Regions from separate parts of the Homo sapiens genome. Here region 1 is linked to region 2. Evidence: promoter capture Hi-C in 16 types of primary human blood cells and fetal thymus (Javierre and others, 2016). All regions are on one chromosome and are shown on one strand. Each heading gives the region's core, a stretch centred on a gene start or on the middle of the fragment in contact. The rest is flanking DNA. Distances are from core to core; before and after follow the strand shown.

The links. The method cuts DNA at HindIII sites, captures the fragments that hold promoters and counts their contacts. A CHiCAGO score of 5 or more calls a contact.
Region 1: a fragment that was not itself captured here is called in contact with the fragment with the promoter of TPP1 in region 2 in 1 of 17 cell types (M2 macrophages); the score reaches 5.1 in M2 macrophages.

What each region holds. Positions count from the first base shown.
Region 1 is chr11:6,216,034-6,223,358 of GRCh38, reverse strand. FHIP1B (FHF complex subunit HOOK interacting protein 1B) reads left to right here. Exons shown (of 12, transcript NM_001098794.2): 4 at 121-279; 5 at 462-548; 6 at 750-917; 7 at 4,309-4,388; 8 at 4,596-4,759; 9 at 5,209-5,988. Among named protein-coding and RNA genes, the nearest start is that of C11orf42, 14 kb to the right of the region's middle. The HindIII fragment of the contact is 4,493 bases long and covers 2,785-7,277 here.
Region 2 is chr11:6,618,172-6,620,871 of GRCh38, reverse strand. It overlaps TPP1 (tripeptidyl peptidase 1), which reads left to right and starts at 1,450. Exons shown (of 13, transcript NM_000391.4): 1 at 1,450-1,488; 2 at 1,605-1,676; 3 at 1,957-2,096. The coding sequence starts at 1,472. RefSeq lists an enhancer at 1,080-1,129 and a silencer at 1,680-1,729. The HindIII fragment of the contact is 1,700 bases long and covers 1,007-2,700 here.

The DNA.
Region 1 (7,325 bases), core at 3,782-6,281, 400 kb after region 2:
TGCTTTGGTAATAGCTTATACCCCTATTCCCATCAAAACTCTGGATTACTAGCTCCCCTGTTCCAGTTTTTATATTTTATAAATGTATTTTATATATGAGCTTTTGGTAACTTCTCATAGGTGCTGGCCACAGGGCTCAGTGCCCTGTACTCATCACTGCCTCGAAAGATTGAGGTTCCAGGGGATGATTGGCACTGTCTGCGACGGGAAGACTGGCTGGGAGTGCCAGCCCTTGCACTCTTCATGAGTTCCCTGGAGTTCTGCAATGCAGTAATTCAGGTAGGACTGAAAGTCTGGCCCTTGGTCATTTTTGGGAGATTAGGTAGGAGGGGGTATATTCCCTGGAGTTCTGTCATTTTTCCATCTTGGAAGTAGGATGCCTCTCTGTAGTGTACTATTCTACTCCCTTCCAGGCAGTGGTCTCCTCATAACCCTCCCCCTTCTCTCTGGCACTCCTACAGGTGGCTCACCCCCTGGTGCAGAAGCAGTTGGTTGATTATATCCATAATGGGTTCCTGGTGCCTGTCATGGGTCCTGCCTTGCACAAGGTGAGAGTCATGGGTGGCAAGGCATATAAGGGGCTAAGCTGCAGTGGTAACCTCAGTGACAGGACTAACGTAGGAGGCGGTGGGTAGAGTACTCCTCCCTTTTGCCCTGTCTGCTCCTGATTTCTCTTAGAATCCAGGGAAAATGGCCCTGTATGTGCAGGGAAGCTGTGCATTTCCAGACTTTCCCTTCTTTTTGTGCAGACCTCTGTGGAGGAGATGATCGCCAGTACCGCCTATCTGGAACTTTTCCTACGGAGTATCTCAGAGCCTGCTTTGCTCCGTACCTTCCTGCGATTCCTGTTGTTGCACCGGCATGACACCCACACCATCCTCGACACCCTCGTTGCTCGTATTGGCAGTAACTCCCGGGTATGGCCCTTACCCCTGTCCTAGCTTACCTGGATGACCCATCTTCTTTCTCTGACCTTTGTTCTGGGAGGGTATTCCTGCCCTTCTTTTGCCTGTATCTCCAGCAGTCACCTCAAAATTAAGTGGCATTAACTTTCCAGCATTAAACTTTTAACCATTTTGGGTACAGATTTTAATCTACTCCCCTGCTTTTATGATAGATGAATCTAGAACACAGTCACCTTTTCTGGATGACTTTGGCTGTTCATCATGACTATAGGTTTTGCTACTGTGCAGTGTTCGTAATGTAGTATTGGCCTGAGTTCTCTTAAACTGTTTATCACTCTGTGGCCTGCTTTGGGTGACTTGAGAGCACTTTAGGTTGTGTGTCTGCTTTGGTAGGTGATCCAGGTGCTACTGATATGCTTGCCTTCTTTCTCCTTTGGATTTGCTGCTTTTGAACTATAGCTTGGAGCACTCATCCACCCACCTATCTACTTTCGGTCCTTCCTCCTAAACATTTTTACTGAATGTTCACTGTGTGCCATACTGTTTGCTGGTGCTGGGGATACAGTGATAAATAAGGTAGACATTGTTGCTGACTTCATGGAGCTTACTTTGTAGAGAAGACAGACAAGCAAACACATTAATAAGTTGTGGTCAGGGTTATGAAAAAACTAGAGTGCTTAGAAATAATAGGGTGGCCAAGGAAGACCTCTCTGAAGAGATGACATTGAACTGAGACATAGAGATTATAAAGGAGTTAACTTATTGATCAAGTAGAAGAACAGGAAAGCAAGGGGAACAGCATGCAAAGGACATCAAATGGGGGAAGAGCTTAACATGTTTGAGGAAATGAAAGACTAGAGGTGTAGTGAGCAAGGGGAAGAAGGGAATGAGATAAAAATAGAGGGGTAAAATTCAGATCATGCATGACCTGGAAGACCATGGCAAGAAGTTTGGATATTAACAAATAGAAATATATATAACATGGGAGTGGGTGGTTTCCAAGTTATAAAGACTTAAGCCCCTCTAGGAGAATAAAGCATTAATTTTGCCATGGACTTCATGGCATTTATTTTGCCTCTGGGACCATTTTTGCTTCCTTTTTTTATTATAAGTTAAAGTTTCCTGGATCCATGTGTTTAAAATAGAAGTTCTTTCATCACTAAGAGCTCTGGAAAACTTCTAGATAATGAGATACTAGATAGTAGAGTTCCAGGTCAGTTTCCTGGATAGCTGTGTTTTGTATAGGTGCAGTTTCTGAAGCTAAGTTAGGGTGTATAAGAAATATTCCAGACTGACTGATTAAACCAGTGTTTCTAAACCAAGTGTATACTTTAGAAACGTCTGTGAATCTTTGAAGATGACAACTAACAACTACAACAGATTCTGAGCTCTACCTCAGATTTCGTGAATCTTTGGGAGTAGGCTCAGGACATGTGTATTTTTAAAATTTTCCAAAAAGTAATCATGATAGATGCCTTGGGTTAAGATTTATTGGAACCAATAGGGAATAGGTATTAAAGCTTTAATTTTACAAAGATACCAAAAGTATTTTTTTTCCCTCATTATGCTGAAATTAGGCCATGATTGGCCTCATATTGTCCTGTTCATGTTTAGAGACAGTTGATTTTCTTTTTGAGGTTTTATCTGTTGTTTCTTCCTTTTGTCTTATCCTAACTTTGATTCTTACTCACTATCTTTCATTTTTTTAGTAGTTGTTTCTATTAGTCTCCCATTTGGTCCCCTGGTCTTAGGAGCCTTACATGTTCTTGGGATGTTTCTTCTTGGTTCCTGGTTCTTGGAGGAACAGATCTCTTCTAATTTCAGGATGCCCGTGTTAAACATGTAGATGCTTTCCTTTCCACTGTGGTCCTTTCAAGCTTGATTCTTTGGCTTGACTTTGTAACGTATATAGCCTGCCTTGTGTGCCTTGAAGTGACTAATTTTGGCTAACCAGCCTGTGTTAATTCCGTATTGCTGTCATAACAGATTATCAAACCTAATGCTTAAAACAGATTTATTGTCTTACAGTTTTGTAGGTCATATGTATGACCTGGATCTCGCCAGGCTAAAATCAAAATTTTGGGGGGTGGGGTCTGTGTTCCTTTCAGGAGGCCGTAGGACAGGATCCATTTCCTTATTTCTATTGGCAGAATTAATTTTCTAGCAGTTGTGGCATTGAGATCTCTGTTTTCTTGCTGGTTGACAACTGAAGAACATTCTCAGCCTGTAGAGCAACCAGATTCCTTGGCTCATGGCCCCCCTTCATCCATAGATAATAGATATCTATGGATCTCTATTATCTGTGGATATCTAGGATAATCTCATCTAGGATACTCACATCTGCGAAGTCGTCTCTGCCACGTGAGGTGAAATATTTTTAGGGTCTGGAGATTAGGATGTGAGCATCTTTGAGGGACCACTTTTCTACCCACTTACTACTTTTCAGTGAGTCTGAATTTTTTCATTGCTAGCTAAAGTGGTCATTTAGGATAGCCTCCTGAACATCCATGCTATTCAAAATGTGAACTGCTGTCACGTGTTTTTCTTGCTGTGTGGTTGACTTTTAATTCTCCCGTGGTCATGTAGCAAATAATGAATGCCTAAACTGTTCAGGTAGTGCCCTAGACCAAGACCCATTCGTTGTCTTCAGGGAGCTCAAGGTGTCTGACACACTTGCTGTAAGGGAAGTATAGAGAAAGTGCTAGGAAGATTCAGAGAAGTGAGGGAAAGGTTACATATGTGTTTTCTTTACCTAGTCAGAGATGAACCAACCTTCTTCCTTTTCTAAAATAAAAGATTTCCTCTAATCTTGACCCACCTACTTTTTCCTTTTCCTGTCAGCTGCGCTTGAGTTGTTCTTTATCCTGCCTTCTGAGAGATACACTAGTGTTAGAGAGGTGACTCAGACTTCATGTTTGCAGCCCCACCTACTTCCCAGTTGGGAATCTTCCCGGTTCCCTCTAGTTTCTTATTGGTAGGCATTCAGTTACTGTATTGCTACAGTCCCTTCTGGCAGGCATTCACTTAATTACCATGTTTCTGTTGTCTCCTGTTAGTCATTCACTCAATCACAGTATTTCTTAGTCTCTTCTCATGGATTTTCGTTCAAGTGTTGCTGGAGTCTCTGCTGACCAGGTATATATAGCTAGAGAGTCTATAGAAGTCCATTGGGTCTGAGATGCTTCATTTGTATGAATAGCAAAGTCTTGCTCGCAAAGATCGTGTGATCATCTAGCTAATACTTGAATGACTTATGTGCCAGGCATGGTACATGGTCCTCTAGGAGTTCCTCTAGGAGTGGTTGGTTGGGCCAACTTGGGGCTGGTGGGGTTCCCGTTTGGTGAATGGCTTGGAGGGCAGAGAGCTCTTATGGTGACTCCCTCCCTCCCCTCCACCCCCCCAGCTCTGCATGGTCTCTCTGAGTCTCTTCAGGACCCTCCTGAACCTCAGCTGTGAGGATGTCCTGCTGCAGCTGGTTCTCAGGTATCTGTTGGGGCAGGGCTGAGGGATGGCTGACCCTGAAGCCTCAGAGTCTTATGCATTGCTGGGGCAATGGGCTATATAGGGGTTACTCATGAGTTTCCACTTGGAGCCTGGCTTAACCATGCAGTTTCATTGGCCTGATGTTCCTCTAGGCCCTGTCCTTCCTTCCTGATCTACCCTGTGTCCCCTTTCTGATGTCTTTCTCAGGTATCTTGTTCCATGTAACCACGTTATGCTGAGCCAGAAGCCGGCTGTTCGTGATGTGGACCTATATGGACGAGCAGCTGACAAGTTTCTCTCCCTAATCCCACGCTGTTGTCGGCACCACGCCCCCAGCCCACCTCGTCCAGAGCATGCCTCATGGGCACGAGGTGGGCCTAGCAGAGAGACAGGGAGAAGGGAGGACATCACGGGTATGGCCTAGGTTCTGGGGGAGCGTAGCAAGGAGGGGCTGGGGTGAAGGGGAGGAAGGTGTCCATGAATGATAGTCTGTCTTTGGGGAGGTTGATGAGGGTGTCTTGCAGGGAGGACCCTTAACACTCACCAAAGAAAATTAGAGTGGGACTTCTGGGCAAAGCTATTCTTGTTCTTCTCTCTAGTCGTGTACTCTTCCTGTTTCCATTGTGTCTTCAGTGGTGATGGTGGTGAGTGGGGGTGGTGGATGAGGATAAGGTTAATTAGGAGGTTGGAGAGTTAGCTGTCTGAATAGATTCCATGTTTCTGCCTCCCCATTGTCTTCTTTCTTAGTCTCCCGAGGTGTCTTATCTCTCCTTCTGAACCTCTGTCTCCTTGATTTCTCTTATATTTTTTCCCTTTGCAGGTCCTGGAAGCCCAAGTGTGGACTCCTCTTCTGTGACGACAGTACCCCGGCCCTCCACACCATCTCGTCTGGCTCTCTTCCTGCGGCAGCAGAGCCTGGGTGGCTCTGAGTCTCCAGGCCCAGCCCCTTGCTCACCAGGGCTTTCTGCATCCCCCGCCTCCAGCCCTGGCCGACGGCCTACCCCTGCAGAGGAGCCTGGAGAGCTGGAAGACAATTACCTGGAGTATCTGCGTGAGGCACGTCGTGGTGTGGACCGCTGTGTCCGAGCCTGCCGTACCTGGTCTGCCCCCTATGATGGCGAGCGGCCCTCTCCTGAGCCCAGTCCTTTTGGCTCCCGGACTAAGAAACGCAGCCTACTGCCTGAGGAGGACAGGAACAACGTGGGGGAAGGGGAGGAGGAAGAGCTGGGGAGGAGGGGGCGGGCTGGGGGTGCAGGGGAGGGCCCTGGTCACCTGCCCCCTCCCCAGCTCAATGGAGTGCCAGGATCATGGCCTGAGGGGGCCAAGAAGGTTCGTCTGGTGCCAAAGGAGGGAGCTGGGGAACTGCTAGAGGGCATCTCCGAGGGCATGGCAGGACTAGAGGGCTTTGGGCAGGAGCTCCGGGAGCTAGAGGTGGCATTGAGCAATGGGGGAACTGGCTCAGAGTCCCCCTTAGAACCTCCACTGCCCCTTGAGGAGGAGGAGGCCTACGAGAGCTTCACCTGTCCCCCTGAGCCCCCTGGCCCCTTCCTCAGCAGCCCTTTGCGGACTCTCAACCAGCTGCCAAGCCAGCCCTTCACTGGTAAGCTACTTAGCCTAGGCCTTCCCTTCTGTGTACTCTTTGCATGTTCTCGACATGTTTGTGCTGGTTTCTTGGACCTCTTGGCCATGTCATTTCTGTGTACTTGCCTAGCCCCTCATCCATCCTGCTTGCATCACTTCCAGATACGTGTCATGTCATACTTGTGTCCCTGTGTCTGTCTGTACGTCTTCCATGCTTGTGCTGGTTTGAGTATTGACTTACATCTGAGCCTTGTATGTATGTCCTATGTGCATGTTCCTCCTCTTTCCCTAGTCTGGCCATTTCCTGCGATTTGTAATTAGGATATTCTGTGTTTGATGTTTCCTGGTGAATCACAGCAATATTTCTGAACCATATTGAAGACGTATGTGCTGTCCTGTATGGAGAGGCACCTAAACACTCTCTATGCCATTCCGTCCAGTTTATCTGTCTGGGTCTTGGGTTTTCTGTCAGCTCTCCTGGGGCCTAAGGTTAACCTTCTGGTATTTTTCTCCCTACTCAGCTCCTTCCTCCCCACCTCTTCAAAGAAGGACTTGATTTCAAGTTTTTCCTGTTCGCTTTCCTTGTACCTTCTTGGTTGCTGTGACTGTCTGCTAGCACTAAGACTGTCTTAAGCAGATAGAGTGCAATTTCTTTGAAGGCAAATGACAAAGCGTGGCCCTGAGCTCCCTGACTGAGTTCATTTGGACTCTCAAGGATGCCCTGGAGCTAGACTCGATCTGAGTGGTTGGACTAACTCCTCTTTGTTTTTGTATGAGAGCCAGCTTACCCCGCCATTCTAAACCTCAGGCCAGGAAAACCAAAAAACAAAAAAACCAACCAAACAAAAAACAAACCCACCTCTGAGAAGTAGTAGCTAAGGCTAAGATCACAGGCCTTGGATTAGGCATACCTTACATTAGCCTCCCATCTCTGCCATAGATGCATATAAATCATTTACTACAATTATGGCACATTGTGAGAACTCAGCAAGTGGTAGCTTTTCACTAGGATCTCTGGGTACATAGCAGATTTAAGTTGACTAAGGCAAACACTCATCTTCCAGTTGTTCATAGTCAGATTGTCATGCCTTGATAAGTTCATGTCCTGACTGGGCCTGGGAGATGCTGGCCATCCTGCTCATACAGCACCAGGGCTTCTGCCATGGAGTTGTGCCAATTCCCTCTTCTTGCCTCCTACAGAAAATCTATCTTTCCATTTATTTAGCCTCTGCTCTGTTCCTTTCAGCTCAGTACCACTAGGTGATAGCGTGCAGGTTTTACCACAGTCTTGAAGTATTAATTGAAGCTTTTGTCTTTTTTTCCTTTGGTAAACTTATCTGAGCTTTTCAATTTTTT
Region 2 (2,700 bases), core at 201-2,700:
CTGTTCTTTGGGGAGCCAGGCTGTGAGGGAAAGGCAATTGGCCAGTGTTTGAGAAGTTCATGAGATTGAGGAAATTAGAAAAAAAAAAAAAAGTTGTGGTCAAAGGGAAATGTTTCTGAGCATGATGCTAGTAAATACAGCTCTAGGATCCACGCTTAGTGGGAAACTGGAGGGATCAATGGACAGAGAGAAGTCAGATTAATAGGAGTGAGGAAAAACAATGGCTTGAAAAAACAGAAGGTTATAGTCTAAGAAAGCATTCTATAATTATAATTTCAAAGGTAGAGCAGTTTTGAGAGATAGCAAGCCCAATGCAGCCATGGGACTGGTTTGCTTAAGTGAAGTGAAGGTAATGCTCACTGGGTTTAATGAGATGAAGAAATGGAAGGTTAGGGTGTTGAATGGGTCTTTTACCTAGATATTTTGATCATCTAGGTCAAATGATCGCAGGAGTTGGGATGGACAGAAAGGTGAAGTGCCATAATCTTCAGTGTGGGAATATAATCTATAGGTTAATGGAAGCCAGTGGCCTGTAGGACAACAGCAGGAGTAGAGGGATCTATCTAAAAAGTATTGAGGTCAGAACAAGGGATTTCACATGAGTATTGGATTAATGGTTTTGGAAGTTAAAATGACACTGCTGACACCATCTTCCATATGGATTTTTGGGGGGAAAAAAAGGAAGACTGGAAGGGAATTGAATCCTCAGGGTTTTAACTCTCATTGAAAATCCTCTTGTAATGACCCCAGTTGGAAGTAGTAAACTCAGACCTCCTTGTGGGCTTTGAGTTACCATTAGAAGAAGCAAAGGTCCGTTTCCATTTTATCCACCTGAGCCCACTAAACAAGATGCAAGATTCCTCCATGGCCCTTAGAACAAAGTTGATTTCCTTGAAAACCTTGGGAACCCATAATAAACAGGACCCCAGCTGATTGTAGATCTCCTGGGAAGCTACTTAAAACTGGAAACTGATTTGAATAAAAGGATCCTGGTCTTGCAAAAGCTTTACTCTGTTCATAAATGTAGTCGTAAAATGAAGACAAAATTGATAATATGGGGACATAAAGGATAAAAGAGGAAAAAAATTTTTTCACTGCAATCTTTCGAGGCAGATCACTTTTATATAAGTCTCCATATTGTAAATGCAGAAACCTAGGCTCTGAGAGGTTATTTTGCTGATGTCATACAGCTAGGAAGAACCCCAGTCTGTGGGTCTCTACAGCCCACTCACTTGTGGTGATTCCCAGGGGACCAGGCTCAGGACGCAGGTGGGGAGCCCTGGGCTTACTCAGTGCTTGACTGGCCAGAGGGGAGAATCCGGGTGGCGGCCCCACCCTTGCCTAGCATTTGGGACCACCCATGCAAGGGAGGAGCCAGTACCGTCACTAGTTACTAGGCAGAGGGGTAGTGGTGGTGGAATATAGAGCTCATGTGATCCGTCACATGACAGCAGATCCGCGGAAGGGCAGAATGGGACTCCAAGCCTGGTGAGAAATTGAGAGGGCTCGGGAGAAAGGGATCACGTTGGAGGGAGCACACATTGGGAGGGTGGGAACACAAGGACAACGTAGCTCCCACTGAAACCCACCTGCTGCCCCTACAGCCTCCTAGGGCTCTTTGCCCTCATCCTCTCTGGCAAATGCAGTTACAGCCCGGAGCCCGACCAGCGGAGGACGTGAGTTGACTTAGCACAGACTGCCCCCTTCCCCATACCCTGTTCTGCCTCCCACTGTCCTGGTCCTAGCTTCTCTCACCCCCGTGCCAGCTCCTAGTACGCACTCCATAGCTTCATCTCTATGTTCCTAGCCTCAGTCCCCTATCATTCACCTCATGTGATCTGTATCTGCTCCTAGGATCCTCCCCAAGGTCTCAGCTCCTAATCTGGAACCTTCCATGACCAATATTTTCCATCTCCACCCTAACCAAAGCCATGTCCCTGACCCCTGACCCTACAGGCTGCCCCCAGGCTGGGTGTCCCTGGGCCGTGCGGACCCTGAGGAAGAGCTGAGTCTCACCTTTGCCCTGAGACAGCAGAATGTGGAAAGACTCTCGGAGCTGGTGCAGGCTGTGTCGGATCCCAGCTCTCCTCAATACGGTGCCTTTTGGGACTGAGGACAGGATGTGGGATGCGGTGGAGGGACACAGGGCTGGGTTGGGCATGGGATGGCGATCATGTCAGAGCCTGCCAAGACACTTGTGTTCCTCAGGCTAGAAACCTAAAAGGGGATGTGGTTCAGTATACAGGCTTTATGATCAAATACGAACTCAAATTCTGACTCTGCTACTTACTAGCTACCAGGCATCTAGTACAACTTACGTTCCTTCCCCTACCCTCAAATCCATTCTAATTTCCTCTTTTGTTCACATACTAAGGCTGCCAGTTCTAACTCCCAAAGAGCCTTTGGATTAATCTCCTTCTTGCCGTCTTTTGTTACGACCAACTCCGTTATTTATTCCCACTCCTGGACTACTGCCCAGCTCCCCAGCTGATCTGCAGTCTCCTCCCTCCACCCCACCCCTCACTGTACTCCCCCACTCTGCTTCAAAACAGTCTCTCCAACAGTCAAAATGGATTGGTTCCTTCTCCTGGTTAAAGCCCTTCACAGCAGGGGGAGTGTGTGCTTGTGAACTGCAGAGGCTGGGGACGGGGCAGTGTGACACTAGTGTGCATGGCAGGAAACAGTGACTCACCATCGTGT